Regions from separate parts of the Homo sapiens genome. Here all the other regions are linked to region 1. The links are contacts of gene promoters, found by promoter capture Hi-C in human tissues and cell types (Jung and others, 2019). All regions are on one chromosome and are shown on one strand. Each heading gives the region's core, a stretch centred on a gene start or on the middle of the fragment in contact. The rest is flanking DNA. Distances are from core to core; before and after follow the strand shown.

Evidence for each region. Contacts are between HindIII fragments. The study calls those that stand out against the background at their distance.
Region 2: a fragment that was not itself captured here is called in contact with the fragment with the promoter of FKBP4 in region 1 in 1 of the 25 tissues and cell types used here (small bowel).
Region 3: a contact is called between a fragment that was not itself captured here and the fragment with the promoter of FKBP4 in region 1, in 1 of the 25 tissues and cell types used here (dorsolateral prefrontal cortex).
Region 4: a contact is called between a fragment that was not itself captured here and the fragment with the promoter of FKBP4 in region 1, in 1 of the 25 tissues and cell types used here (dorsolateral prefrontal cortex).
Region 5: a contact is called between a fragment that was not itself captured here and the fragment with the promoter of FKBP4 in region 1, in 1 of the 25 tissues and cell types used here (pancreas).
Region 6: a fragment that was not itself captured here is called in contact with the fragment with the promoter of FKBP4 in region 1 in 2 of the 25 tissues and cell types used here (IMR-90 fibroblasts and hippocampus).

What each region holds. Positions count from the first base shown.
Region 1 is chr12:2,792,153-2,797,290 of GRCh38, forward strand. It overlaps FKBP4 (FKBP prolyl isomerase 4), which reads left to right and starts at 2,818. Exons shown (of 10, transcript NM_002014.4): 1 at 2,818-3,092; 2 at 4,986-5,130. The coding sequence starts at 2,988. It overlaps ITFG2-AS1 (ITFG2 antisense RNA 1), which reads right to left. Exons shown (of 4, transcript NR_146317.1): 2 at 4,725-4,794. RefSeq lists enhancers at 1,697-2,242, 2,243-2,787, 4,281-5,138 and silencers at 2,637-3,016, 3,047-3,106, 3,457-3,866. The HindIII fragment of the contact is 5,309 bases long and covers 1-5,098 here.
Region 2 is chr12:1,387,368-1,392,505 of GRCh38, forward strand. The region is part of intron 16 of ERC1 (ELKS/RAB6-interacting/CAST family member 1); the gene reads left to right. Among named protein-coding and RNA genes, the nearest start is that of LINC00942, 110 kb to the right of the region's middle. The HindIII fragment of the contact is 7,264 bases long and covers 1-5,138 here.
Region 3 is chr12:1,657,637-1,662,774 of GRCh38, forward strand. It overlaps MIR3649 (microRNA 3649), which reads right to left and starts at 2,744; the gene lies at 2,679-2,744. RefSeq lists silencers at 4,238-4,337, 4,428-4,517. The HindIII fragment of the contact is 8,592 bases long and covers 1-5,138 here.
Region 4 is chr12:1,692,057-1,697,194 of GRCh38, forward strand. The region is part of intron 1 of ADIPOR2 (adiponectin receptor 2); the gene reads left to right. It also overlaps the pseudogene LOC100533654. Among named protein-coding and RNA genes, the nearest start is that of ADIPOR2, 3.6 kb to the left of the region's middle. The HindIII fragment of the contact is 3,880 bases long and covers 192-4,071 here.
Region 5 is chr12:1,764,994-1,770,131 of GRCh38, forward strand. The region is part of intron 2 of ADIPOR2 (adiponectin receptor 2); the gene reads left to right. Among named protein-coding and RNA genes, the nearest start is that of LRTM2, 53 kb to the right of the region's middle. RefSeq lists an enhancer at 904-1,404. The HindIII fragment of the contact is 6,690 bases long and covers 1-5,138 here.
Region 6 is chr12:1,791,291-1,796,428 of GRCh38, forward strand. It overlaps CACNA2D4 (calcium voltage-gated channel auxiliary subunit alpha2delta 4), which reads right to left. Exons shown (of 38, transcript NM_172364.5): 36 at 4,378-4,490; 37 at 4,009-4,091; 38 at 673-2,469. The coding sequence ends at 2,365. Among named protein-coding and RNA genes, the nearest start is that of LRTM2, 27 kb to the right of the region's middle. RefSeq lists enhancers at 4,257-4,824, 4,936-5,138 and a silencer at 4,785-5,114. The HindIII fragment of the contact is 9,636 bases long and covers 1-5,138 here.

The DNA of each region.
Region 1 (5,138 bases), core at 1,568-4,067:
ATACTGCATAACATGTATGCATACATGAACACACACACCTATATGCATTTCAGTCTTTTGAACGATCCAAATATCATACAATTATTTGGATGTTAAGTGCATTGGCAGCCTAGGAAGGTCAAGATATGAACTGTAGAAACAAGGGGTCTTCATGTGTAAATGATGGGCCCAGAGTTTGGGATCTGAGCCAGGTCAGCTCTAAGAGGCTCAGTGTGACGAAAACAAAGTTTCTGATCCCAGCAGGAGTCACCTACAGATAAGGTGGATGAGAAAAAGTGTGCTGACTTCCTCCCGCAAAAAAAGGGGACATTTTGGAAGAATTTCGAGTGGTACCGGTTACACATCTTTAATGAGAATACTAACTTAAATGGCCTGGGGAAAGGGTGAGGAGATAGAGGAAAGAGACTAAAACACGTGCACACTTTCTACAGTATATGTACTTTTTATGATCAGAAAAATATCACATAAACGACCAGGAAATATTCTAAGAGAAACAGTAAGTTCCTGCTCCAGGATTCAAGACCCCTAGTTTCCTCCTGTGGTTTCTCCTAGTTTCTGCCTGTGGTCCCCTAGTTTCCTCCTTCACTGTGTGGGGACAGAGCTTCTCACCGGGAACCTTGCCCTCTTGCCCTTCCCTGTCTCACAGACCTCTGTTTTCTTAGCCCTTTGTCCCCATCTCCACTGCAGCGCCTATCAGATCACACTAAAACGACCGTTATTTACCAGCTGCGGAGTTGGAGGCGAGGACTGAGCTAGATACCATACACAGATTCCCGCTTTTTTAACCATTAAATCACCCTCTTTTACAAATGTTACTATCTCTATTTTACAGACAAGAAATCGAGACATGAAGATTAACTAACCTGCCCCAATTTAAACAGCTAACATAACACATGGGCCGCCCAACGTCCCTTACTCCAAAGCACATGCTCATTCCACTAGGGTATTAGGCTATGTGTTAATGTAACGGCAGGCAATCTGAAGGGCTCCACTATGTACGTGCCGAACAGAATTAAAGGGGGGGTCCCACACTGTCCGCTTCCGATGAAGAAAAAGACGCAGAAAAGAAACCGCCACACGTGGAGAATCAGTAGGTGCAAGCCAAGGACAGTTTGCGGTAAACTGCCACCCCGGAAGCCAGCACCCACCATCCTGGTCTCCCGGAGTTTGGGTGACCCCTGGCACTGTTACTTCTGCATAAAAGTAGTGGATTTAACCCCTACAGAGGCAGCGCCCCGTATCCTCTGAAGCTGTCTCCAGCCACCTAAAGAGACGTCTTCATTATGGCTCAACTCATTTGGGCTGTAAATTGCTGAAGCGAAGGGCTTTTTCTTCTGCATCCCTTTCAAGTTCCGTCGGCAGGGACTACAATAAATCATCACATTATGACGCTGAAAGTTCATCTCTAAAAAGCTTTCAATTTAGTTTGATGAGACTAATGGCGTCCAATCGCACAGTGCCGGGCACATAACGGGAAGTCCAAAAATACAGTTATTATTGGAATAAAAATTCAGGCTGGGCGCAGTGGCTCACGCCTGTAATCCGAGAACTTTGGGAGGCCGAGGCGGGCGGATCATTTGAGACCAGATGTTCGAGACCAGCCTGGGCAACATGGCGAAACCCCGTCTCTACTAAAAATACAAAAATTAGTCGGCGTGGTGGCGGACGCCTGTAGTCCCGGCTACAGAGAGCCAAGATCGCACCACCGCACTGCAGCCTGGGCGACAGAGCAAGACCCTGTCTCAAAAAAAAAAAAAAAAGAAAAAAAAATCAGCCAAGACTTGGAAAAAGAAATTTAAAAAAGGAAAATTCATGCAGCCAGTAACTATTGGGACATCACTCACCAGGCACTATGCTAAACTGGGGTTAGGTGCTGAGCAAAACCAGGCCCCTCTCTAGATGGCTCTCTAGGTCCCACGACCATAGCTTAGGTGACACCGGCACCTGCGCGCTCCACAGCCTGTCGAAAAACACTCGGGAAGCAAACATTGAGAAGAAAATACTCCTTCTGTGGGCCTTTAGGAAAACCGAGTGACTTTTTTCGTGAGGGGAACCCATCTTTGTAAGCATTCGCGGAAACGGCAGTTTTATTACCGCCGGGAAGGGTCCCCTGAGTGTGTGCCCCATCTGAGTTCCGAGCTGGGCGGGCCATGCCTTGCCAACCCCGCTGCTCGCAGCATCTGCAGGCGCTGAGCGAGGCATCGCTGCCTGGCCGGGGCTTCTCGGATCTGGGGAAATCGAGGTCGCTTTCCCCGGCTCTCTGCAGCGGGGCAGCGCTGTCCACTCACTCCCCGCTCCCCGCGCACGCCCTTGCCCTCTTTCCCCCAAGTAGGGAAGGGTCTACGCGGGTCATAGCAGAGAGGCCACGCCGCCCGTGGTGACGGCCGGTCCCGGGGAGGGGGCGCCGCCACTGCCATCCCGCAGCCTGCGCTCCCCACACCCCGCCGCAGGCGCAGCGGACTGGTGGAGTGATGTCGGGAGATCGATCGAGAAGAATCTGGAAGAATCCGGTTAGACAGGGAAGCGGGCGGGGATGGGAGGGAGGGAGGAAGGGCCAAGGGAGGCCGCCGGGGAGATCCCGAGTCCGAGGGTCCCAGGAGAAGGGGGAGGGGGCAGGCAGCCAGAAGGAGGCAAGAACCAAAAAAAAAAAAAGAAAAAAAAATTCCGAAGCGCCCGCAGCACTGAGCCCGAACCGGCTCAGTCCCGCCGTCTCTAGAAAGTTCTGCACCCCGCCCCCTCTGTCTGCGCTCCCGCTCCTCCCAGCCCCTCCCTCGCGGCGGGGCGGGACCAATCGCTCCCCGAGCCGCTCCTGACCCACCTACCCCAGCTCTCGCGCCGCGTGCAGAGGTGCTCAAGCCTCCTCGCGGTCCGCAGTCAGTGCCGCCGCGCCCGGCCTCCCGCACGCCCCGCAGGTAGCGCCCCCGCCCGCGGCCCAGAGTGCGCTCGCGCCGGCACCAGCTCCCGGATAAACGGCGCGCCGCGCGGAGATGACAGCCGAGGAGATGAAGGCGACCGAGAGCGGGGCGCAGTCGGCGCCGCTGCCCATGGAGGGAGTGGACATCAGCCCCAAACAGGACGAAGGCGTGCTGAAGGTGAGGGGCGGCGGGGCCTGCGGAGGCGTCGGAACCCGGGGCCCCGCGGGCCGCCCTTCCGCCGCGCCCGGAGCCCGCGGCCGGGCACGGGTCGAGGCGGCCGCCTTTGCAGCCTCGCGGCCGTCCCGCCGGGGGCCGGTGGCATCGCCGTCCCGGACCGGGCTGCGTCGTTTAAGGCACCGAGGCCGGCCATGCGCTCGGCAGGGGGGCGGCCTAGGTGCGCGGGCCGAGGCCCCAGGCTCCCCAGCCGGCAGCGCCCGGGCCCGGGCAGGGGGTCGGGATTGCAGTGCCCACCCCGGCGCGCGCGGGGCGGCGGAGAGGGGCGGGGCGAGGCGACCGCCGCGGGCACCCGAGCCGCAGCCCGGGGCCAGGCCGGGCCTCCCACGCCACGCCGCCCCCGACCTCGCGGCCCCAGCGGAGCTGCCAGCCGCGGGCCGCCTCGTTGGTGGCGGTGCCAGGGCTCGCCCACCCGGGCGGTGGAACACGGGCCAGGACGGGGAGCGACTCCCCACAGTGCTTTCCTGGCCCTTCGGCCTTTGTGCGACGCAGGCGCGACAGGGTTCCGGCGCCCTCCCGGGGTCCCCTGCCGACGCCGGGACCCAGCGAGGTCCCCACTCGCCGCGCGGCGCCCCCTCCCTCGGCCCCGGGGAGGCCGGGCGCGGGGCATGCCGGGAGCTGTAGTCCCCTCCCCCCTCCGCCGCCTCCCGGAGCCAGGGCTGCGGGGTGTGGGGCGGGGAGGAGGCGCTCTGCTGTGGAGCCTGCCGCCGAGTGACCGCTCGACTACAAATAGCCTGGGGAGCTGCGGGGAGGGCATCTTGACCTGGGCCAGGACAACCTGCCTTGGGTCGGAGCAGGTTCCAGGGAGAATCAGAGATGGTGAATTCCCAGCCTGCGTCTTATGCCTTCTCCCCATCCGCTGCTGCGTCCTCATCCTGGCTTCCCACCGCTGAGCTCCGCGTGTGCGGCACCCACCTCAGGGGGCCTTTACCTGGTCCAGAAGTGCATCTGTCTTTGCACCAGATTATTGGGGACCTCAAGCGTCTGCTCCAGCGGCTCTCCTGTGGCATGTGACTTCCCCTTCTCGCTCCAGCGTCCTGCCGTTTTCTACGAGATTGTTATTCCAGGAAAGCTCATTTCCCCTTTGATCCATCATTCCTTCCCTTTTACCTTTCTACTCCTCAAAGCCCCTGTCTATTCTTCGTGGAAGCTTTCCCTTGGAGGGTAACCACACACCTACCAGGTGGCGCTAAAGAAGCCTTTACGTTTCTGGGAAATACTCCAGCCCTGGACTAACTACCAGAGGAATACTCAGCTCCCAAGTCAGAGTTTAAGGTCCCATGGAGAGCCTCCGGGTTCACCTATAACCTGGTTTCTTCCTTACCTGTTTTGAACTGTTTCTATTCTCTTCACTCATACTCCTCTCGCTCTCCTGTCTCCAAACCAGACCTTAGTCTGACGACCACTGGCATGAAGGAAGAAGGAGGAAGTGTGGCATAAATACTTCCCCCTTTGCCGATTATAATAATAATCTATTATTCAACCTTTTACTGGTCTAATCTTCCAACAACTGTAGGAGATAGGGATTATCATCACTGCTTTACAAATAAAGTGTGGAGAATTTTAAAAACTTACCATACAGCGGAAACTTGAACTCAGATCTCTCAGCCTTTTGTCTCCTTTTTCAAACCAAGTCTTGCTGCACCTCAAGAAAGACAAGAAGGTTAGTTGACTCATAAGCCAAGCTGCTAGTAACTGAATCTGGAGGGACAAGTAGGCAGAGGAGGATGAACACAGAGAAGTCCCTTTATGTTCCCTCTGGAGGCTTGCAGGCAGTGCTGGTGCCCCTTTCTGCCCCAAACCCTGGGGTACTCACTTTCTCCCCCTTCCTCCCAGGTCATCAAGAGAGAGGGCACAGGTACAGAGATGCCCATGATTGGGGACCGAGTCTTTGTCCACTACACTGGCTGGCTATTAGATGGCACAAAGTTTGACTCCAGTCTGGATCGCAAGGACAAATTCTCCTTTGACCTGGGAAAAGGTAGGCGT
Region 2 (5,138 bases), core at 1,966-4,465, 1.4 Mb before region 1:
AGTAGATGGAATGCCCCCCAAAACATATGCCCTCCCCAAACTTATAGCCCCCAAAAAACATTATGTCCACGTCCAGTTTCTATAACCTGTAAATGAAACCATATTTGGATAAAGGGTCTTTGCAGATGGGATTAAATTAAGGATTTCAAGAAGAGATCATTCTTGATTATCCAGGTGGGGCCCTAACCCTAATGACAAGTCCTTGTGAGAGACAGAGAGAAGACAGATACAGAAGATAAGGTGATATAAAGGCAGAGGCAGAGATTAGACTGGGTGGCTATGAACCAAGAAATGTCCACAGTCACTGAAGCCAAAAGAGGCAAGGAAGGATGCTCCCTTAGCATCTCCACAGGGAACATGGCCCTGCCAACACCATACTTTTGGACTTGGGGCCGCTAGAACTGTGAGAGAGTAAATTTATGTTGTGTTTATGTTGTTTGTGATCATTTCTTACGGCAGCTCCAGGAAACTAACACATGGAGTAGGTAACACAGCTTCTCGAGTCCTTCATGTATGACAAGCTTGTTGCCCCTGAAGGTATTAGGGTTCCCCTTTATTTGAAGGAGAAAGGTGAATACATTATCTCTGCTTAATCACTAGCATTTGTTGATATATGCAAAGAAGACATTCTTAAGACAGCCTCGGGGCAGAAGAGGTCAAATAATATTTTTGGAGAAAGGAGAATACTAAGAGACTAATAAGAGTTAGCCTCGGCCGGGCGTGGTGGCTCACGCTTGTAATCCCAGCACTTTGGGAGGCCGAGGCGGGCGGATCAGGAGGTCAGAAGATCGAGACCACGGTGAAACCCTGTCTCTGTTAAAAATACAAAAAATTAGCCAGGCGTGGTGGTGGGCACCTGTAGTCCCAGCTACTCGGAGAGGCTGAGGCAGGAGAATGGTGTGAACCCGGGAGGCGGAGCTTGCAGTGAACTGAGATTGCGCCACCGCACTCCAGCCTGGGTGACAGAGACTCTGTCTCAAAAAAAAAAAAAAAAAAAAAAATTAGCCTCATGAATGAGCTAGAAAAGGAGCTCTTAGGCAGAGGGATCATTGTGGCCAGGGTTGCTGAAGCATGAAGCATCCTGAGATCAGGGAGCCATAGAAGGCTTCTTATTACCAAGTCTGCACTACTCCTGGGCAGTGACGTGAGACTCCAGAGCCAGGAGGAGACAGGTCACGGAGAGCCCTGGATTGACAATGCTGAGAGTAGCTTGGACTTGCTCCTGTAGGGGATGCCAAGCCATGGAGAGGCTTTTAGTCTCACCGATGTTTTCAGAGTTTTCTTTTATAGATAAATCAATCACTCTGGCAGCTAATGGAGGAAGTTAAGGGGAGCCTGGAGTAAGAAGATGGTAAGATTAAAAACAGGGAGACTGTTTAAGAATCTATTCCAGTTGCCCAAATATGAAATGATGAGGACAAGAATATAGGGTAGTTGAGATGGAGTAATGTATTCACTAGGCCATTCTGTGTATCAAACACCACCTAATCTTAGTGCCTTAACACAGTAAACGCTTATTTCTTGGTTACACAAAGTCCACCGCAGATCTTGCCGGCTCTATGAGGAAGCTGCCCTCCATGCAGCAATTCAGTAATCCAATTCTACTAAAAATTTCCTCCTTTAGCTCTTTCAGTATGAGGCCTTCTTGGTCACTGTGGCAAAGGAACAAGTAATTGGTGGTTCCCGTGCTGTTTCTTCTATGCTTGGGTCCCACGGTCACTACCCACAGACCACTGGCCAGTCAGATGTCTGGTCTGGCCAAGTAAGTGGAAGTGGTCTCCCTAATTAAAATGAGTAATCAAGAAGAAAGGCCATATATGGAAGAGAATATAACATGCTTATTTTTAGTAGAGTTGAATTCGAGGTTATTTATACCCAAATAGATACATCAAGAAAGCCGTTGGCTGGAGATGCTCCAGGTAAAGATGAGAGCTAGAAATGATAATTTTGGAGTCATCAGAACAGAAATACTACTTAAACCCATGAAAATGGAATAGCTTGCTTAAGAGAGAATATAGGCAAGTTATACTTACTTTTTACTGTTTTCTGACACATACTAAAATATTAACACAGGCCATTCTTTTCATCCTTACAGATTATAGTTCAATGAGCATATGCCCTCTGTAAGCCTGTTGGTAATGGATTTCAGAATTGGCTCTACTGGATATGCATTGCTAGGAGTTTTTATGCAGTTCTAGGGTTTTTAAGACCTTTTTTTCATGTCTTACATGTGTTGAAAATGCTTTAAGCATTTATGGCACAATATATCACAGGTGATTGTGATCTTATATACCCCATAGCCATTTTGCTGATTTGATATATAAATTAATAAAGCTCTGTTCCTGGAAATGAGGATAATGCTACATGAATACTCCAAAGAGTTAACATAAATGTAGTCTTGAAAAGCACTCCCTCAAGAAAAGAATTCTGTCCAAATCCTATTAATTCCCGGGTATTTTGCCTATTTTCCTTAAAAGCACCTTACATTAAAAAATCTGTTTTGCATTCAGTCTCTAAGCAAAAATATGTAGTGCCTTTAAAGAAACAACAACAAAAAAACCCTTGAGTAGGTTAATCTCTCCATTTTAAGTTACACACTTATTTCATGAACTAATCAAACTTGTCGTTAAGGCTTCATTAATTTCCTCTCCACTCATGGGGTGGGATGGTTGAATCATAGCGGGGCTGTGTGTGTCTGGAAGTGACCTTTGTATATTTGGGTGGTAAATTATACTTCAAAATACCAGTAGACATTTTATTAAAATTTTTATTTTCTTTGGTAGATTATTTCCTTCTAATTATAGTAGTAAACACTGGTATGTTATGATTAGTGATTAGCTTATAACAAACATCTAAACAGGGATAAGTCAGCCTGTTTAGCGATAAACCTGTCTCTTGATATATTTAGAACTGATCACTAGCCAGTATGGCTCCATATATTTCTAGGACAGTGTAACCCACAGTGACATAAATTAAAATTTTAAAAAAATCAAGGATACAGTAAATACCAACTGTCTATTAATATTGATTAATAAATCAATACATTTAAAAAATAATAAAGTTTAATTTTTCAAATTGATAAAAGTAAAAATTACTAAATTGATACATTACTGAGTTAATAAAATTAACATTTACTACTATTAATCTAAATGGGAAGGTGAAACATGGGACAAAGAATGAATTTTTCTGAACCTAAAAACTGGAAGGAAAGTCAAAAGTACTTACCAGAGCATGCTTAGGATGCCCAAAGGTACTGTCAGTTCATCTCCCGGAGGTGGGGTTAGTTTAGTCACCACCAAAATAAAACTGTGGTCAAACCATGAATTTTGGAGTATTAAATGAACCCAGTTGTGGATTCACTATGGTCAAATTACTACAAGAACTGGGACTGGAATAGGTTGCCCTGCCCTAGAAGTTTCCTAGTTGATTGAGTTGAGGTCTGATTAAGTTGAGGTCACTTCCAGACACACACAGTCGCACTCTGATTCAACCATCCCACTCCAGGAATGGAGAGGAAATTAATGAAGCCTTACTGACAAGTTTGATGAGGGAGGGAGCAGCTATGTTGGCATGTCTTCTAAGAGCTGTTTCTGACTTCTGGTGCCCAGCAGTAGTCCAGCTATGGTAGCTGATCAGTTGCTGCCTAATTACCTAATCCTATTGGCAAGATGAATGTTTCAGTTCGCTGCTGTGCCTTTAATCATAATTGTCTTTTATTCATTCAGTTTGAGGTCTTCCTGGTTCTTGGGATGTTGAGTGATTCTCAGTTGAAACCTGGACATGTTGGATGTTATGCGATATGACTCTGGGTCTTACTTAGACTTCTGTTTTAGCTGGTTTTCTTTGACACCACTCCAGCAGGGGAAGAATGGGGTGCTGCCTCAGTATTGCCCAGTGGAGGTAGAAGTCCAGTTTCTCCCACTTGGACCCTGCTGACACTCAAGGGGTGGAGGCTTCTTGTTACTCCTAGGTGGAGATGGGTATTCATGTCCCCACTAGGCTTCACTGGTGTATCCCTGCCTGGTTAGGGTAGGAAGGCCTCCACTAACACAGTGGGGGTGAAGGAAGGGGGGCCTGGTTACTGCTGTGCGGTAGTGAAGGTCCGACTCCACCAGGAGACACGGCTGTTACTGCTCCATGGAGGTGGAATTCTAGAATCCTCACCTAGTCTCTAGTGACACTGTGGAGGGGAGACTTCATTGCTGATGGTTGGAGATTATAGCCCTGCCTCCCTCGGCTTTCCCTGACACCTTCCAGTGGAGCAAGGAGAGGCTGAAGCACCTCCTCACAACCTGGTGAGCATGGGGCCCGCCGCTTGGTCTTTACTGACATGAGTGACAGTGGGACCACATGGTCTTTGGAATAGAGTGATTGTTGTCCCACAGGTTTCTATGTTGCTAGGCTGTCCCTTTCCTTTGGAGGCTTCTTTGGCTAGAGAGAGTGGGCTCCTGTTGAAGCTTTTTTGGTCTGTGCCTGTTGGCATTTCCTGGTTGTTGGCTTCTTCAGCTCTACCTCTGGATATATAAGGCAGAAAGATCCAGGGAGCTGCAGGTCACAGCACTCCTGACTGGTCTGCCTTCTCTCTGCCTTTTTAGTGTTTGTCTGTGTGTATAGTTCTTGTTGTACTTTTATACTTAGTGTGCTGGAGAAAAAAAAATATTCCTGATACTTCTTAAAGACAGTAAGGCAGACTATTCAGGGGACCACTGAGATGAGGATTTGTGTTAGAGGGCAGAGATTGGGCTCAACTCAGAATACACAAGGACCAATGGAGATGTGTAGCGAAGGAGCAGGGTGGGGGTCAGTGATGGAAAATTACTAAGAAGAAACGTCATGGCTGGGGGATTCTTGCCAGACCTACTCAACAGGAGTTGCTGAAGACAAGCCAGAGAGATGACATATTGATAGTGGGAGATGAGGAATTTGATCAGATCTCATGAGTGATCAGGCCTCAAGGGTGGGGATTTATTTTTGAAGGAAGACTTAAGCAAACTACCTTTTCTCTTTAGGAAAATAAAATGTATGTTCTGGGCTTAGATATCTAAGTAATCAGTAGGTTGAATTTTAATGCTTACATGCAGATAACCGATTTTTTTAAGTTATAATTTTCATTACTACCTCATCCCTTAGCCCAAGTC
Region 3 (5,138 bases), core at 1,381-3,880, 1.1 Mb before region 1:
GCTATTTTTTTTTTTTTTTAATTTTTTGTAGAGACTGGGGTCTCACTGTGTTGTCTAGGCTGGCCTCAAACTCCTGGGCTCAAGCAATCTTCCTGCCTTGGCAGCCCAAAGTCCTGGGATTACAGGCATAAACCACCATGCCAGGTGCCAGGTCAGAGATGTGGTTTTTTCAATCCCAGGGTCAAGAAACCAGAATTGCAGCCCTGGCTCTGCTGTCAAATTGTTCAAAAGCCTCTGAGGAAGAAGGATCAGGCTTCCAGGCTTTATTTGCTCCTCAGTTCCCGGTGCCAGCTCAGGGTTTTTGCAAAGTTTAGCTGCCATAGGAAGTGAGAAATTGCTCTGGAAAATGTATATGTTCCCATTTTTGCCTTTGTTATTATTTCAGTTCTGCTGTGGACTGTTGTGAACTGACCCAGTAACCACAGGCTAGTTCTTTGTCTTCCAAGCCCCTTATTGCTTGTTTCCAACAAAGTAGTCAAAAACACTTTCTCTGCTAAACAAACTTTTTTTCTTTTTTGTAACAAAAAAGACCAAAGATAGAAATACAGCATGGCTTTCTTTTTTCCTTTTTTTTTTTCTTTTTTTTTTGAGATACAGTCTTGCTCGTTGCCCAGGCTGGAGTGCAGTTGTGAGATCTCGGCTCACTGCAACCTCCACCTCCTGGGCTCAAGCGATTCTCCTGCCTCGGCCTCCCTAGTAGCTGGGACTACAGGCGCATGCCACCACGCCTGGCTAATTTTTGTATTTTTAGTAGAGATGGGGTTTTGCCACGTTGGCCAGGCTGGTCTCAAACTCCTGACCTTAGGTGATCCGCCCGCCTTGGCCTCCCAAATTGTTGGGACTATAGGCATGAGCCACCGCGCCCAGCCTTACAGCATGGATTTCTAAACAGAGTGGCTATTTGTTGCTGGGACAGGTAACTGAGAGGATAGATTTCATTCCCCAGAGAAGTTTAAGAAAAGAAGAGCATTTAGATGTTTTTAGAATTTAGTAGAGTCTAGAGCCAGGGAGAAAACCAGACATTCTCTGGAGATTCATTTCAGCTAGAGGGTTCTGTGTGTCCCATCTCCCTTTCAGGGATTAATCAGCCTCTAAAAACAGCAAGGGCACAAGATTCAGTACAGAGGACCTGGCTTCCCAACCAACTAGTTAAGTGATTCAGGCAGTTTCCTCAGCAATAAAACAGAAATAATACTCTCTCTACCTCAAATTAAATCATATGGATGTGAAAGCCTTTTGTAAAATATAAACTTTTAAAATATTGAGGCTGGGCATGGTGGCTCATGCCTGTAATCCCAGCACTTTGGGAGGCTGAGGTAGCAGGATTACTTGGGCCCAGAAGTTTGAGGTTGCAGTGAGCTAGGATCGAGCCACTGTACTCCAGACTGGGTGACAGAGCAAGACCCTGTATTAAAAAAGAAAAGGGTAATGGTATATCTTACATAGATATAGATAAGTGTATAAGATATAGCTTGCTTATATCATGGCAAGATCAATGAAAATATGCTTTTTAAAAAAGTAAAGTTTATTATGTAAGCTCTTGGGAATCATCTCAACTGAAGCCAACCACAAATGCAAGGGGTCTAACCTTGATGATCTGGATTTGTTTGGTCTTTTGTATACCCAGAAATCCACCATCCTTCTCTATGTTGGTCTTGGTCTTTCCTGAGAAGGCCAGTACCTGAAAAGTGAGCATTCCACCTTCCACCCCGCCATCACATGGGAGTCTTTTTTTTTTTTTTTTAAATCCCCAGTCTGTTTACCACTTTGTCCTAAGAATCAAAGACTTAGGAAACTTTTTTTTTTTTTTTTTTTTGAGACAGGGTCTCACTCTGTCACCCAGGCTGGAGTGCAGTGGCGTGATCTCAGCTCACGGCAACCTCTGCCTCCCAGGCTCAAGCGATTTTCCTGCCTCAGCTTCCTGAGTAGCTGGAATTACAGGCACGCGCCACCACACCCGGCTAATTTTTGTATTTTTTTTTAGTAGAGACGAGGTTTCACCATGCTGGCCAGGCTGGTCCTTATCTCCTGACCTCAAGTGATCCACCAGCCTCGGCCTCCCAAAGTGCTGGGATTACAGGCGTGAGCCACTGCTCCCGGCCAAGGAAACTTCAAGAAGGCAAAGGCAAGGAGGCCCACCCCTGGGCCCTCAGAGGACATGGACAGGGAGCGGACTCTGAAAGGAGCTCTGGGAATGGACTCTGCCCCCTCTAGCCCCCAGGGCCTGGCCGCCTACACCCAGCTGCTTCTCCTCACTGGCCTCTGCCCCAGGACATGGCAGCCACATCAGGGACGTGGAGCTGGGAAGCGTCCCCCCTTCTCACAGAAGGTCTGTGACAGTGGAGAAGATTCCCAGGATCTCAGGCTAGAAGTTGGAAGGCATTTTCTGAGGGCCACATGATTCCACCAGCTGGAGTTTTCTGTTCCCATTGTACAGTCCTTGATTTCTGGGACACAAGATGTTCTTTTAGGCTTTCCTGAATAACAAAGATCACACATACACTTGTTTATCTGGGGAGATGCCTTCCCGTTCTAAACAACTGACTTACAAATTCTCTTTCTGAGAACAATGCCCATTCATAAGTTGGGAACATTCTGTATGAGTGACTTCTGGCTGGGAAGGCACAGTTCTCAGGAGGGGGAGGAGTTCTCAGGAGACCCCTGTAAAGTGGGCCTGTGCTTAGACACTCAGGTCCCTGTGTTTGCTAGAAACACTTGGGCACACACAGGTGCCTGTTCCAAGCCTTCCTCCCAAGGAACACACCTGCGCATGTGAGTCACATGTCCCGCCAACGTGCCACCTAACCTTCACCCTGAGCTGGGGAGTATTGAGTAACTGTGTCGTCAGCAAAGTCACCCCACTGCTTGGGTAACACCTTCAGATAGTATCCAGGCCAAAACATGTTAAGAAAAAAAATTCACTCACAGCCAGAACACTTATTCCTGTTTATCTTTTAACAATGCAAGGGTAGGGAAATTGTTTGGAAATCAAAACGTGGAAGTTCGTTCATCCTCCCAACTCGTGGAGTTCTAAGGCAGAGACTGGCTAAGCTTTTGTGGGACCTAAAAGTTATATAATCAGGGTGGGGCAGTTTAAATAATTACAAATACGGAATTATGAACAGGGCCTTAGAAGGCGAGGGAGAGGCCCTGAAACTTGAGCTTCATTCACTTAATGGAAAATCTAACTCTGATTCTAGGGGAAGAATCTAGAAGATTCCATGAAAATACAATGTTATAGAGCTTTAAATGACTTTCCCTAAAATACTTTTAATACTTCTTGCCTTAGTGGATCCTGGCTTTTCTTTGACAGTGTCATTCAGTTGAAAACCCTCTGGGTAAAGGCTCTTCGCCTCCTGGCAGCCCCATGCGGGCGGGAGGTGCTGCTCTCAGGGTCTTCACACCCCACTGTTGCAGCCCTCCGCCCACCCGTCTCTCCAGCCGGACCATCCTCTCTGCATTTTGGTCCCTGTCCTCCGCCCACCCGTCTCTCCAGCCGGACCATCCTCTCTGCATTTTGGTCCCTGTCCTCCGCCCACCCGTCTCTCCAGCCGGACCATCCTCTCTGCATTTTGGTCCCTGTCCTCCGCCCACCCGTCTCTCCAGCCGGACCATCCTCTCTGCATTTTGGTCCCTGTCCTCCGCCCACCCGTCTCTCCAGCCGGACCATCCTCTCTGCATTTTGGTCCCTGTCCTCCGCCCACCCGTCTCTCCAGCCGGACCATCCTCTCTGCATTTTGGTCCCTGTCCTCCGCCCACCCGTCTCTCCAGCCGGACCATCCTCTCTGCATTTTGGTCCCTGTCCTCCGCCCACCCGTCTCTCCAGCCGGACCATCCTCTCTGCATTTTGGTCCCTGTCCTCCGCCCACCCTGGGGCCCTTCTGCAAAGCACTGAGGTTCGGGGCGCATGGACGTCTTCCTCCCAGCCCCTCATCCGCCAGCGAGCTGAGCCGCGCCCGGGCCCCTGTCACCGCGCCACCGCTCCTTCGGGACCTGAAGCCTCCGTGCTCAGCGATCCCCCTGCAGCCCACTGCGACCCCCACCCTTGCTGCGCCCTCCGCCTCAGCACGGCCCTCCCGGAGCTATGTGCCCTCCCTGACTTCCTCTTCGCCCCTCCCCTGCCTGGCTCTCCCACTGCCAGTCACCCCAACCCCGCCCCAGCAGCAGCCTCGAGTTCCCTCTCCCCTCGAAGGCCTCGCGGCGGACTCGGAGCGGGGCAGGGAGGAGGCGGGAGGCGGCGGGGGGCGGGGGGCGGGGGGAGGCGGGAGGCGGCGGGAGGCGGGGGGCGGGGCCGCAGCTCCGCCCTCGGGAAATGGCTCCGCCTCCCTCGCCGGGAGCTGCCTTCAGGGGCCGTATGCAGCGACTCCCCACCCCGCGGGCCATGCCAGCGGACGGGCACCTCCGCGGGCGCAGAGCGAGTCACACGTGCATCCTCTCGCCCTTCCCCCGCTGCACCGCCCGCTGTCCAGCCCTCTCCTGTTTTCTCCCACTGCAGAGCTGGCTAAAGAACACTGCAGACTTGGGCCAATTTGCCCCTGCCCAGATTCCTGATTCCCGGCCTCGCGGCCCCACCGCTGTCTTCCTCTCCCCTCCCGGACTTCCTGTCGCCCCCAGCCCCAGCCCTCTGTGGCCGCGGCCTGCTCTGCCTGAGCTGCGCCTCCGGAGGTTCCGCCGCCCCTTCGCCTCCCCCTCCCCACTTCCCGCCTCCCCCCTCACTTCCCGCCTCCCCCTCCCCACTTCCCGCCTCCCCCCTCACTTCCCGCCTCCCCCTCCCCACTTCCCGCCTCCCCCTCCCCACTTCCCGCCTCCCCCTCCTCACTTCCCGCCTCCCCCTCCTCACTTCCCGCCTCCCCCTCCCCACTTCCCGCCTCCCCCTCCCCACTTCCCGCCTCCCCCTCCCCACTTCCCGCCTCCCCCCTCACTTCCCGCCTCCCCCTCCCCACTTCCCGCCTCCCCCTCACTTCCCGCCTCCTCCTCCCCACTTCCCGCCTCCCCCTCCTCACTTCCCGCCTCCCCCTCCTCACTTCCCGCCTCCCCCTCCTCACTTCCCGCCTCCCCCTCCCCACTTCCCGCCTCCCCCTCCTCACTTCCCGCCTCCCCCTCCTCACTTCCCGCCTCCCTCCTGAGAGGTCCGCTGT
Region 4 (5,138 bases), core at 882-3,381, 1.1 Mb before region 1:
TTGTCCCCCATTTCTGTTCCAAAAGCAGACTTTTTTTTTTTTTATCACCCCTTCCCCTCACCCAGAGAATCCCTTTAAACGCCAAGAAAGCTGTCATAACATTTAGCATTATTTGATCACAGAACTTTTCCAAATGAAATGCTAAAAATTCCTTCAGAAAAAAGCATCCATCTACCCATAGCATTATTTTTTGGGGGGAGGCTATACGTCTTGTCAGTTCTGAAAGTTTGAAGTGACCTCTTATCAAAGGCCACCCTTATGTCTCCTTAAACGACTCTTAGGTAATTCCTAGATGTTTTCATCCGTTCTGATAAATTTGTTGTCAGAGTGTTGATTGTGATGATCTGCAACTAAAATTATTTCATCAGTAAAGATTTCCACACATGTGGCAGCTGCTTGTTGGTGAATTATGAAATTTGAAAAAATTGCAAATTAAATGTGAAAGGCATATTTCTTTTAACTTCTGATTGTAACTGTCTGTCCTCCAGTATACGTTCCTATCTAGACTTTGGTCTGCTTAGCAGATTTCCTCTTTTCACTTGACACTAGGAATGGGAGTAGGATTTCCAGAGCCTAAAAGAGAGTTTGTTTTTTTTTTCTATCCCTAGGCTCCTTGTATGAATTTATAAATAAATGGTTTTTTCTATCAATAGTATCAATTTAGCTGGTGCACTTTTTTTTTTTAGTATAAATCACATTTTGTTTCCTAAAATGAAAATAATTTTGTTTTATTCTTTATTTCAGGGATTGACAGATTTTAAAGCCTGCAGGCCCAGTCCTGCCAGTTGCCTCTTTTTGTAAATAAAGATTTGATTAGGCCTGGTGCGATCGCTCACGCTGGTAATCCCAGCACTTTGGGAGGTCGAGGCGGGCAGATAACCTGAGATCAGGAGTTTGAGACCAGCTTGGCCAACATGGTGAAACCCCGTCCCTATTAAAACTACAAAAATTAGCCGGGTGTGGTGGCGCACTCTTGTTATCCCAGCTGCCCGGGAGGCTGAGGCAGGAGAATCGTTTAAACCCGGGAGGTAGAGGTTGCAGTGAGCCAAGATTGCACCATTGCACTCCAGTCTGGACAACAAGAGCGAAACTCCGTCTTAAAAAAAAGAGGAAGAAAAAAGTTTTTATTAGAACATAGCCATATGCAGTCGTTTAGGTATTGTCTGTAGTTTCTTTTGGGGTACAGCAGCAGAGTTGAGTAGTTGTGCCAGAGAGCCATGTGGCCTGTAACACCTTATATTTATTTACTATGTGGACCTTAATATAAAAAGTTTGCCGAGCTCCATTAAAAATGATACATAGTCAATGTTGAAAATTTAAATGAGTCAGAAAATTGTAAAGGAGAAAGTAAAAGTTATTTACAAGTACACCACTTGGGGCTTTTTTTCTGTGATTATAGAATTTGTTGGTGATTATTTTTTATATAAATGAACTCAAATTGATAAATGTTGGTTTGTAATCTGCTTTTTTTTTTTTTTGTTCATTTTGTTTTTTGAGACGGAGTTTCGTTCTTGTTGCCCAGGCTGGAGTGCAATGGCACGATCTTGGCTCACTGCAACCTCTGCCTCCTGGGTTCAAGCAATTCTCCTGCCTCAGCCTCCCTAGTAGCTGGGATTACAGGTGTGCGCCACCAAGCCCGGCCAATTTTTTTTTTGTATTTTTAGTAGAGACGGGGTTTCACCATGTTGGCCAGGCTGGTCTCGAACTCCTCATGTGATCCACCTGCCTCACCCCTCAAAGTGCTGGGATTACAGGTGTGAGCAACCGTGCCCAGCCCTGTAATCTGCTTTTTTAAGAAGTATTTCATTATTTGTATTTGGATTTTGATTGCTTTTGTATTTTCTGCATTGGAGGTCTTTCTAGAAAGGGGCTTATGAACCGGGTTTTCATGATTAGTCTTACCAGTCAAGATTTAAAAAGAAAATCCAGGAATAATAAATGCTTGGTAATGAAGATGCTGGTTAACATTTATTGAGCACTTACTATGTACTAGACAATTTCCACTACTTTACGTGTATGAAATTATTTAATTGCTGTGGCAGCTCTGTGAGTGTATACTATGATTTCTGTTTTACAGGTGAGGAAACTAAGGCAAGGAGAAAAATTAAGTAACTGTTGGAAGTTTATCAGCTAGCAAATGGTGGAGCTAGGATTTGATTTCATGCAGTCTGATTTGAGAAACCCAAATTCTTAACAATATGCTACAGAGCCTCTACTTACATTATTGCTCAGTGTAGAAAGTTTAGACAGTCCAGAGATATACTGTCATCCCTTGGTGTCTGTAGGGACTGCTTCTAGGACCTTTGGTGAATATCAAGATGCACAGATGCTCAAATCTCTGATATAAATGGCATAGTATTTGCATATAACCTGTGCATATCCTCCCAAATACTTTATATCATTTCTAGATTACTTATAATACCTAATAGAATATAAATGCTATGTAAATAGTTGTTATACTGTATTGTTTGGGGAATAAAGACAAGAAAAAAAAGTCTGCATGTTTCAAATACAGATGCTATATTAAACTTTTTGGATCCAAGCTTGGTTGAATCCACAGACATAAGAGCCCATGGATATGGAGGGCCAACTGTATAATGTAAAAAAATTCCTTCTCATGCGCTAGTTTCCAGTTTTCATCCTTTGTAGATAACCAGGGGCAACAGTTTGATATAGGTCTTTTCACCTCTCTTTGTGTGCATATACAAGTAATTATTTGCAGATTTGTCTGCATATTCAGAATTTAAAAATTACACTTTTTTTTAGCAGCTTTAGATGTACAGAAATTTGAGCCGATAGCACAGAAAGTTCCCATATTCCCTTCCCTTCCCTCGTTTCTCCTATTGCAAACATCTTGCATTAATTTGGCACATTTATTGCATTTGATGAGCCCATATCAATATGTTGTTATTTATTGGTCTATAGTTTACATAGGGCTTATTCTTTGTGTTGCAGTTTTTTTTTTTTTTTTGTTTTGTTTTTTTAAGATCTCACTCTGTATCTCAGGCTGGAGTGCACTGGTGCCGTCATGGCTCTGCAGCCTCGACCTCCCGGGCTCAAGCGATCCTCCCACCTTAGCCTCCCAAAGTGTTAGGGTTACAGACATGAGCCACTGCACTTGGCCGAGAGTTATTTTTTACAAAAATGGGATCAAGCCCAGTGGTGGCTTGCGCCTGTAGTTCCAGCTACTTGGGAGGTTGAGGTGGGAGGATTGCTTGAGGCTAGGAGTTTGAGACCAGTCTGGGCAACACAGCATGACTCTGACCAGTCTGGGCAACACAGCATGACTCTGTCTCTTAAAAAAAAAAAAAAGTGGGCTGAGGGTGGTGGCTAACGTCGGTAATCCTTGCACTTTGGGAGGCCAAGGCAGGTGGATCACCTGAGGTCAGGAGTTCGGGACCAGCCTGGCCAACATGAATGAAACCCCCTCTCTACCAAAAATATATTAAAAAAAAAATTATCTGGGTATGGTGGCGCGCGCCTGTAATCCCAACTACTCAGGAGGCTGAGGCAGGAGAATCGCTTGAAACTGGGAGGTGGAGGTTGCAGTGAACCGAGATTGCACCACTGCGCTCTAGCCTGGGCAACAGGAGCAAAACTCCATCTCAAAAAAAAAAAAAAAAAATGACGAAACCCGTCATTCAGCAGTCATTCACCTTTTTTGGTGGTTTTCAGGATATAGTGCTTTTGGACTTTCTAATGTAAACATTCTTGATTTACTAATTTTCAGATTAATGACAATTTATTTTGGGAATGGAAGGCTGGCTTGGATGTTACTTTTTCTCTCTTTTTATTTTTCTATTTTTTTTTTTAAGTGTATCTCATAGTGGCAGCAGCTTTTCCCCAAAGGAATGCTTATTTTTTTTGACGGGACATTCTGGCTATACCTAATCATCAAAGTTCTTCTTTTTTCTCTTTATCTCTGGATTTGGAAAATGATTCATTTTGGTTTTCTTCCTCATAAATTCTTTTTGGTCTGTCCAGCCATTGCAGTTGCTAGTCATGTCTCCTTGTCAGACTTTGGCTTTTTATGACTGTCATCAATGTTAGAAAAAATTACTTGCTCCTTATCACTATTTCAATACATTTCCTCTTGGGCTTTCCCTGGGGGCAGCACTGAATTTTTTCCTTAGTTGAGCCATGCAGATTTTCTAGAAGTCATCGTTTAGTTTGGCTTTTCACTCCTCCATGGGTGCTGTTCAGCTTCTAGGAGATTTCTTGCAGTTTCTACTTGTCAACAGATTCACCAGCAGCACCCTCCTCCTCACTGAGACTGGTGCTTCCCCACCCATCTTTATCATTTTCAGCCTTCTCTTTTTCTTTCTCTTTTCTTTTTTCCTTCTTTTTTTTTTTTTTGGTTACAGCGTCTTACTCTGTTGCCCAGACTGGAGTGCAGTGGTGCAATCGTAGCTTACTGCAACCTCCGCTTCATGGGCTCAAGTGATCCTCCCACTTCAGCTTCCCAAGTAGCCGGGATTACAGGCATGCACCACCATGCCTGGCTAATGTTTGTATTTTTTGTAGAAACAGGGTTTTGCCATGTTGTCCAGGCTGGTCTTGAACTCCTGGCCTCGAGCGATCCTCCTCCCTCAGCCTCTTGAATAGCTGGATTTAACAGGCAGGAGCCATTGTCCCTGGCCATATTCTTGCACTGTTGATTTTACTGGGGCCTCTGTCAGCTTACCCTGGAATTCTGCATCATCTGAGGATTTGGAAGAACTGAATCACAGTTATAGTAGACAGCATCATATTCTTATCCTTGTGTGTTTTATACTGGGACAGGTCTTGAGGAAGTTCTTCTGTCATGGCTAGGGGACATTGAGCTATTACCTCTTATAGCACTGATTTGGACTGTCATGTCTTCCCTAAAGTTCTTGTCCATAACATAATGGATGGTCACAGTCATGAGCAATAACTGAGTGATCTCTGGGACTAACAGGTGATGAAATGCATGTTTAGCAAACAGTGATTTCTGTTACTTCTCTGTGGTGCAGCAGCAGAAACTTTTGCCCAAAGGCATAGAAGTTAGAGGGCTTATGAATTTCTGCCAATCTGGAGATAAGATTTATGAGCATCATGTTAACTCAAACCTCTGCTTAGAGATTTCTAGCTGTGTGCTTCAGGAGTGTTTTGGTAAA
Region 5 (5,138 bases), core at 1,710-4,209, 1.0 Mb before region 1:
ACATTCCAGTACTTGTTTTTTAGTGAACAAATGTATGCACTTCCATTAGCTACATACCTGTGAGTGGAATTACTGCGTTAGGAAGATGATCCCATTCTCCCTTTAAACATCAAAAATATTTAACAGACCTCACTACATGATACTCACATTTTAAATATTAGTTTGAAAAAAATACATGATAGAAATTGGCTATGAATTCAGTTCATCTTAAGTGAATTTGTATTTTGTGATTCACGCAGCACCTACATGATTTTAAATTAGTTACACCTACTTTATGAATATGAGACATTTATTCAGTCTACAGATTACATTTAATGTGCATATACACTTGCATAATTTTTGAAGTAATTAGCCAAGATAGTGGTGTTAGGTTGGGAATTAAGGTACTACTTAAAGCTGTGTACTTTCTCTTAGCTTCTGTTTCTTCATTTACCATGTTTGATCTAGATTTCCACTTAATAAAATGGGAATAGAAATATACTCATTTCAGAAAATTGTTATGAGGGTTTGATTAATTTGTAAAAAGCACTTAGTACAATGTCTGGCATGTAGTGTATAATAAATAATAATTGTTACTCTGTCCTTCCTTTATAATAGTACTTGACTACTCCATAACTGTAGTAAGTCCTGATAAACACATCTTGAAGTTATCCACATATCTCAGCCACCCTTGATTTCAACAGCCTTTTCATAAAGGTGATTTCTAAATCTATCATCTTAGTGCAGTCTTCTTTTTTTTCCCCCTTTTTTCTTCTATAGCCTTCAAATGAGAAGTGCTTTCTTCTTTATTGGACTTGTAACCATTTCAAATTGAACTAATGTTAAACTAAGGTTAACTGTCCACTCCCCCATCAGCTTTTCCTTCTATTCTAATTTTCTAATCCTAATTTCTCTTAAATAGTACCAACTTTCTTTCAGGTACTCAGACTTGGTTCCTAGACTGTCAAGAGTGGAAGGGATCCCATCAGTCATTTAGTTTAGTAGACACATGGATGCTTTTAATCCTTCTACAAATGTTTTTAGTTTCTTTACCATGTGTTGGCACTTTGGACTTGAGAAGACATAGTTTTTGCCCTTAAGCAGCATGTAGTTTAGTTGGAGAGACAGGTAAATCAGTACATTTGTGGTGAGTGCTGTGTGGTTTTATGCACAGATTACTATGGTAGTAACTCCAGTTGCAAATGGATTTAGCTAAGAAAGGACTAAAGGACATTTTAGACAAAGGGAACAGCAGATGTGAAGATTCAGAAGCAGATGTAATACGATGCCTGTAGGGAATAGTAATAATAATAGCTAATGTTTATTGAGTACACACTGGCACATACTGATGTCTGAACCTGAAAAATTTCTAGCATAGCTGGAATGAAAGGTCAAGGTGTATAGTGGGGTGGAGGATGTGGTAGTAAGTAAGACAAGACACCTGGGGCCTGAAATCTAGGTCTTTAGCCTCCTGGTCCAGTATTATGCCATCATTCAAATTTCTTTTTGCAATTTATATCAGTTTCAAATTTTGTGTAATGTTGTGTACTGGTTGAAATGATTAGACCATTGCCCCTAGGCCTCTGACCCTAAAGCCTGGACTCTTTTAACTATATTTGCTAAAGTATATAGTTAGGAGGCATTCTGTAAGCTTTTGGACAAAAATATAAGAGAGGCATTTCAAACCAGGTTGTCCTGATCTTTATTTTTATGGCTCCCCTCTGCCTCCCTGCTCCCTTTCTGAGCTTTCAAGATATTAGGTTGAATAAAGAGATCAGCCTTTATGGTTGTCCTACTTTTCTTCTGCTCCAGATTCTTCTTTATAAATTGGGAGATAAGGAACTTTTATTCATTCAACCTTCATATTCTGTTAAACTGGTTTACTTTAACCAAAATCAAGAATGCCACTATATAATAGTTTATTGTAAGAAAACTAACTTGTAAATAGACTCTTGTCAATCACTTCATTTTATTTTCATGGAGAAGCCTGCTTAAGAAATTCAATTAAGATTAGAGGCCGGGTGTGGTGGCTCACGCCCGTAATCCCAGCACTTCGGGAAGCTGAGGCGGGTGGATCACCTGAGGTCAGGAGTTCGAGACCAGCCTGGCCAACATGGTGAAACCCCGTCTCTACTAAAAATATAAATAATTAGCCGGGCGTGGTGGCAGGCGCCTATAATCCCAGCTACTCGGGAGGCTGAGGCAGGAGAATCGCTTGAACCCAGGAGGCAGAGGTTGCAGTGAGCCAAGATTGCGCCATCACACTCCAGCCTGGAGGACAAGAGCAAGACTTCGTCAAAAAAAAAAAAAAAAAAAAAAAAAGATAGAATTGCTATTTGAGAATTTTTAAAAAACTGAGTGATTTTAAAGATCTTTTCCATTAAGCTTTGATGGAAGTCAGAGTATATATATTTCTAGGCAGGCCAAAATGAATATTCATATAGACTAGATATTATAGTTATTCTTTTGGAGAATACTGGGTATACATCCATCAATACTTATTCTTCAGCTATCATTTTTTTTTGTAGATACCTTTGTTTCCACAAACCTCTTTGTTTTCATTTGTTAGTAATATCAGCTTGCTAATGCCCTTGCTACACATTTCCAATTTCTAAAGTTAAGGCTGGCTTCAACCTGTCAACTTGTAAAAAGACCATAAAAATCACCTGTTGATCAAACTAAGCCAGGTTTATTACATACTCCAGTAAGGGTGAACACTGCCCTAAAGAGTCCTAGAAGTATTTCAGAAAGAAAGTATTGGATATGGATATTTACAGGGTTTTGGGGTCTGGTTTCAAGTAGTTTAAGGAGATTTTACTTGGCCCTGTTCTGAGTTTGTGATAGAATTCTTAGACCAAGTCTTGATAAACAAATATTTGTTTGGTAAGTGAGCATGTTTGCCCAGTTGAGCAATGATTAAGGATCTAATTGAGCAGTCTGTTGTTCAGTTAAATGAATTTTTGAGAAATTCCTAAAGCTAATGATGAAGTTATTTACTGGTTTGCATTCTTACCTTCCTGGGCAAGAATTTCCGAGAACAAATAATAAAGTTCTGTTGATATAGGGGCCTTAGATCTTAGTCCTTATAATTAAGCTGTGTGAATGCAGAAGGTCTCAGTTCTCAATGACATTTATAAAGGCAGACAGATTTTAATCAAAGGTTTACTGTCTCCAGCCCTGGATATTGTACCATTTCTTGACCTTTTTCATCTAATTGTGGATGGTAGATAGTATCATGATTGTGAGTCTTTGTGGCACTTCTTGTACTTCCACTAACATTTAAATACCTCATTTATGTTTTGCTACTTTCCTAAATGCCCCCGAAGCTCTAGATGAACTAGTCTCTTTTTCTCAACATGGCACTTTTGCTTTTCCCTCTTGGTTATTTTCCTTTATCTCATCTTTGCAAAATTTTTATTCTTCATGCAGGCTTTCCTGAGCCTCATCATGTTTATCTTTGAACTAGCTATACCTTTTTTTCTATGAAGTCATTTATTTGGCTAATTTAGCACTTTATTAGATTGTAAGTCCATGGAAGACAGAGACTATGTTTTATTCATCTTATTTTTAATCATCTAATAAATATTTGTTAAACTGAATTACTCTGTTGAATTGAGTTAGGCCAAAACCAATAAATACCCAATAGGTTTGTGAATTATTTTCATATTAGACTGATCTTAAAGACCTTTTATCTTTATCACTATGGTTCTCTGTCTTTCCAAAGGTAAAGTGTACTCTGGAAAATTCTCATTTTAGATTGCAGTTTGGACAGATCATCAAAGTCAAATGTTACTATGTTTTGAAATACAGTCAGCAAAGTTCTCACAGATGGACTTTACTGAAAACAGATGGCGGGAGGGGGGAGATATTTCAAAATGTCTTTGTGCTCATTTCAAAGCATTGACCTCTACAAGTTTAAATATAGTTATTCATAGAAAAACCTGGAGAATTAAGTTTTATGCCTTTATTCTTGGCAGCTTTGGTTTTGTTTAATCTGTCACAATGTCATGTTTCTTGTCATAATTTTGTTGAGGGTGTGGTAAGGAGTATGACAACAGAAGCAGAACATAGCATGTATGTGATCATTGAATATAGATACAATTTATTGTTCAGAGAGGTATCTTTGGGTACTGTGGTTTGGTGGCTGTTGGATGGAAATTAGAAATAGTAATTTCACTCATAATAAAATAGTTATTTGGACTTAATATTGGAAGACAGAGACTATTTTAAATATAGCGTCTAGCATAGTCTTTCCAAGCCATCAGTATGTGACATATGGTATACCCTAGGGAAAGTATTTTTTTATCCTGTTTTAGCCAGTGTTTAACTCTGCCACTGTATTCCTACTTTATCCTCTCTCTAACCCAGGGAACTGCATTTACCACCACCCACACCACGTGGATACCGCATTAGCAACTCCGTTAATACTTGAACACAATAAATAGTTAATTATGGTCTAGTATTTTAATTTATCCTTTGAGAACATATTTGTGAATATTCCTTTATACAAGGGTAGGAATTGGTCATAGTACTTGATAAATCAACAGATTTATTAATACTTTGCCCTTCTGAAGGAAATATTTTTGTTTTTGTTTGTTTCTCTTGTTGCCCAGGCTGGAGTGCAATGGCACGATCTCGGCTCACTGCAACCCCCACCTCCTGGGTTCAAGCGATTCTCCTGTCTCAAGCCTGCTGAGTATCTGGGATTACAGGCGCTCGCCACCTCACCTGGCTGATTCTTGTATTTGTAGTAGAGACAGGGTTTCACCACGTTGGCCAGGCTGGTCTCGACCTCCTGACCTCAGGTGGTGCACCCACGTTGGCCTCCCAAAGTGCTGGGATTACAGATGTGCGACACTGTGCCTGGCCGGAAATAATTCTTTTATAAAGATTCTGAATCTTGCTGATATATTGGGATGGATGGAAATATTTATCTTTACTAAAGTAATTTTTTTTTTTTTTTGAGACAGGGTGTAGCTCTGTTGCCCAGGCTGGAATGCAATGGCAAGATCACAGCTCATTGCAACCTCGACCTCCTGGGGCTCAAGGAGTCCTCCCCCTCAGCCTCTTGAGTAGCTGGGACTGCAGACAGGCACGCAACACCACTCCTGGCTAATTTTTATATTTTTTGTAGAGATGGGGTTTTACCATGTTGCCCA
Region 6 (5,138 bases), core at 1,481-3,980, 1.0 Mb before region 1:
AGCCAGGCTGCCACCTGCTGTCCTTTAGTGGTTCTGCTAAAAGTAGAAGAGGAATCGTTCTGACCTTCAAAGGCAAAGCTTATGAGAATATTTTGTTCTCCAAGGTAGAGAAGGTTAGTTTATCAGAAATGGTTTTTCCTTCCAATGGTCTTGAAAGGGATTCCCCTCGGCCATGCAGAGATATGGGGCCCAGAGGAAGCAGACAAAACCAGGCCAGAAGCTGCTCCAGCTTCCTAAGCTTGGCTTTTTAAGAGTTGATAAATTTGCCTGAAAGTGCTCTACCTGTTTGGGTGGGGATGATAACCCTTCCAAAAGATAACACTGGGTTATGGTCCTACAGAGACTGCTGTTTGGTGTCTGTGAGTTGGTAGTTGGGGTCAAATGCAGTTGGAGGTCAGAATGTGCCTTAATGCCAAAGAATGAACGGCAGGTGGGCGGCCACGGCCTTGGCAGGAAGTGGCAGGGCGAGAGTTAGTGCTCACCCTGCTGTGTGCCGCACAGGTGGTGCCTCGTGACACATGGTTGGGACACTCAGTGATGGCAGCCCAGGGGCTAGAAAGGGCTCCTTGCTGCTTTCTTAACCCTGCTGGGCCTGTTGAACACCTTATTGTTCCTGGCATCTAAATTGTAATTTCTTTGTCCCCACCTCCATGAAACAAGGTAATGTAATGATCGCAGTTAGCATGTATTTATTTAGCGTTTAGTATATGCCAGGCAGTTTCAAGCATGTTACGTGAATACATCACATTCAATCTTCATACACTCTTCCGGTAATTTGGAGGCAATTTTCAACTCTGCTGCAGTTTCTATAACATGGGACTAATGATAGTACCCACTTTCAGGGGGCTGTTGTGAGGATGGAATGAGCTGAAACATGTTATTTGGTACATGTAAACCTTAGCTGTTCTAGCATTATTCTGCCACTTAAGCTGTCTTCGAGCTGCAGTGTCTTCTGCTGTAAGGGGGCATTAATACTGCCCTCACAGGGTTGTTGCAAGACATGACGGTAAGAGTGACATTCTGTAACCGATAATGTAAGTGTGTTTTACAGAGTTGGCATTTGGCCTACTCTAGAGGCAAGTTAGGGCTATTTGCTGGTAGGAAACTTGAACAGCTTTGAACTTGAACTTTGAAGTGTGGAGGCTGAGGGTGATGGAGGAGCGGGGGGAAGCGCCCCAAAAGCCCTGCATGCTGTCCATACCCATCACTGGGGTTTGTTAAATGGAAAGATTTGAGGCCGGCCTCTCCCACATTTCTCCATGGCTTTGCCCTTAATGTTGCTCTCACTGTGGAGACTGTTGTCTCCTGGGATCCAGGTCTTGGGGTTTGGTCGGGGGAGGAAGCTGCGGGGCCTTGGGACCCTGGGGGAGATGTGTGTGCGCTGGGGGTGAGTTCCCAGATAGAGCTTCCCTCCCAGTGGACCCTGCTTAGCAAGTTGGAATGTTCCCACAAGTTCCAACCCTAAGGATTTCACTCCAGGGACAGAGTCAAGTAGATTCTTTTGTAAATCATTGGCCAGAAAAGAGCACAACCACTGCTCTTTTTCACTATTTTACAGCTATTTTTGCCGTCCCCTGAATGTACATCAATTTCCATGCAGCAATTGGATGTCTCAGCCTATTGGCTTTTCATAGATGCAAACTTTCCTTTAGGGCTTTGTAAAGAAGTTTTGGGAAGTTCTTCAATAGCAGCAGTTTGGGGACATCACGTGTAGCCCTGTCGATATTTCCTGAATGGATTTCATTCCTTTCTCAGTCTTGACCATTCCCTTACCCAACCCCCACCCCAACACAGTCAAAACCTTTTCGAGCAGCAGCTAGGAAGGTGAGTGGCCTCCCACCATGAGCCTCACTTTGGGGAATCTATGCTTTAGTTGGGGCATATTCTTGCCTTAGCCTCATCTCTGCATTTGGCCTCATTCTGCTGCTGCTTCTCAGTACCCAGAAGTCCTTGGGTTCTACCAGAGACCACTCCGACAGAAAGGGTCAGAAACAACTGACCCTTTCTTGGCTGGGTCTGGACTCTGGAGTACAGGAAGAACTAAATTATTTTGTCTTGGTCCAAGCTGAGCTCACGCTGGCTTCCCGAAGAGGAGACAGGAAGGTTAGGTCAGAAGTATGCTCATGTTGAGACCTAGGGCAGATGGTACCGGGCACCATGAAGCATCTTGAAAGTGGTGCCAGGTGATTGGTTTCCTGTTCCATCCAGCATTCTCCGGAGCCAGGGGCCACCAGCCCAGGATTGAGAGGAGCGTTGGCCTGGGGGCGACCCAACTGCAGTTAGCTGCATCCCATGTCAGTGCTGACTTTTTGGGATGGCTCTGGAAGGATCACCTTGCCAAAACACAGGTCAGGCTGGGTGGTGTCACCGCAGGAGTTGGGGCAGTAGCCCCCAGGCACACACAGGCAGCAGGAGTAGGGGCGGCGAGGCTGAGGTGTCCGAGGCGCCGCCGCAGTCCTGGGCATTCTCCTGCGAACGCAGAGCAGAGGTGACAGCGCGGCGCTCAGAGGAGGACCCTCAAAAAGGGAGGGGCTTCCACCACTAATTTGGGCCAAAATCCTGGGGAAAGGGGAGTTTTGGAAAGCCGGGGAAGCACTGCTACCTCTCTTAGGCCCCTACCTTTTGGGGGAAAAGCAAAGGCTGGCCCCTCAGCCTGGGAGGGGGGCACCGGCCTTCTCTGCTTGCCCTCAGGCTTGGAGTGGCTGCGAGGTCATCCTCTCAGAATGTCCTCAACTCTGGGAGCATCTCTGATGGGGGTTTCTGGTCCCAGCAGACCAGACTGTATGAAGCACCCGGCTCAGGGCCTGACACCTGGGTCTGGGTTCTGGATCCGTACCAGCCACTATGACTATTATCCACGTGACGGCCCCCTCACATTGCTCGATCATTCGGAACTAAGTGTAGCGGGAATGAGGACAAGATGGGAAAACTGCATTCTAATTCACCTAGGGCCCAAGCCCTAGGAAGCGTGGCTCTTCGTTAAAGCACCTTGGGATCCTGGTTGACTTCGTATTTTAATGACACAGGGGCTCTGCTGTGCTTTCACACCAGCACTTCAACAAATGTGAAGGGTTTTTCCCACCCCACTCTCTGGACACCAACTGGGTGTCTGTCCTGAAACTCAATTCAAGTCTGACACTATTGAGAGTTAGCATTAGAGCTCGCAAGTTACAGGGCTCGGTCCCACAAGGTGGCCGTCACTTCAGATGCCAATCGCAAGCCCCAGGTCTCCTGTCCTTCTGACAGACTGGCTGTAAATCTAGGGTTCCCATGAGCCTGTCTCAGGCTCCGTGAGTTGTTAGCGTGGCTCACTCAACTCAGGAAGGTGCTTCCCTCACCATGACCCGTTTATTATAAAGGACGCAGGTCAGGCGGCTGAGTGGAAGAGACACGTAGGCCAAGGCACGGGGTACGCAGAGCTCCCACACCCTTTCACCAATTCGGACACTCTCCAAACACAGTGGCTCGGGGATTTTATGGAGGCCTCATTATGATCATTGATTAAATCTTTGGCCACTGGTGATCAACTCAGTCTCCAGCCCCCTTCCTTTCCCAGAAGCCAGGGGCTTGGAGCCAAAAGTCCCAACCCTCTAATCCTAACTTGGTGTTTCCTGTGGCCAGCTCTCATCCTGTCTAGGGCCCCCAGCCACCAGTCATCTAATTAGCATACAAAGATACCTCTATCATTCCAAGGGTCTTAGAGGCACCTGTGAAGGAACCAGGGACTAAGACCAAACACTATAACAAAAGATGCACCTATCACCCTAATCAGGAAATAACAAGCGTTTTAGGAGCTTGCCAGGAATCAGGACAAAGACTAAATAAAGATCTGTTTCTTATTATATCACAGTGTCACAGGGCATAAACGCGAATGTTTCCCCCGAGAAGCACAGGCACAGGTGTGTTCATTGGCATCCCTATATGCTCCTGTCTGCAGGGGCACAGACCCAGGCACAGAGGGTTTGGGGATGAAAATCCAGCCCACCCTCGATCCGCCTCAACCCGCACCTCTGGATGGAAGGCGTGGCAGGAGTCTGGTCGCCGGCGGAGCTTCTGGGAGCGCATCCGGTCACATTTGACAGAGGCATTATGTGCAGAAGCCACTGTTAAGGTCAATATCTCAGGACCGGAGCCCATTCTGCAGACTGGAAAAAGGTCTGGAAGAACCTGCTCTGGTGCCACCAGTTGCCCTGCAAGCAGCTTTAGGGTCAGGAGGCAGCACCGGGGCCCAGGGAAGGGTTAGAGAACAAATAACGGAGCCCTGTGGAGGACACGGGCGGTGAAGGAGGCTGGCCCCGCTGCTCAAAATCTGAGCCCTACAGACACCTCCTACAGCCCCCGCCCCCACCGCACACATCCCCGAGCATTGCAGGATATATTTGACTTCTGTCGCCTCCTGCAGCACTGGTGGGAAGATGCTGCAGTCACAGGTGGGGTCTGTCACCAGGAGGAGGAGGTTACTGTTGGGAATCTGCTGCACCACAAATACCCTGCAGCAAAGAAAGGGAGTCGAGGATGGCTCCGTGGCGACCACGAGAAGGGCTTCTAGGGAAGGAACTTCTGGAGACTTTAGTGTGGAGTTAGGGTGGCAGGGAAGCCCGGAACCATGAGGCAGGGCGGGTCGGGGCAGCTAAGGGAACGGGCCTGGCAGATGGCTCAGTCCTACTGGCTTTGCTCACAAGCCTTTGCTGCTGCATTTCCTTTCCTAGCAGACTGGAGACAGTGAGGAAGTCCAAACTGGGCCGCTTTGGAGAGTGCAGAGTTGCTATTAATATATGCAGGGACGACAGGCGTAAATCAAGACCGTCCGGAGCAAATGGGCGGGCGAGGCAACACTTGCTCTGGGTGAGGGTGGCGGGGGCAGGCCCGGGCGAAGCGGCAGCGCTGGAGCTTGGCCACCAGGTGGCGCAGTGGCCCCGCGCTCGGCGAGGCCGCCCTGCGAGGAGTGGCGCGGAGTGGGGCGGAGCCCGCCCGCCAGGCCCACGGCCTTCCCAGCAGTCCCAGCGGCCGCCTACCGAGCGCCTCCCCTGGGATGGGCGGTCTCACACACCCAACGTGCACACCACAGCCGTGTATACTCTCAGCCTTCACGGCTCTGTATGAGGCTGGTGTTGTGCCCATTTTGCAGATGAGAGAAT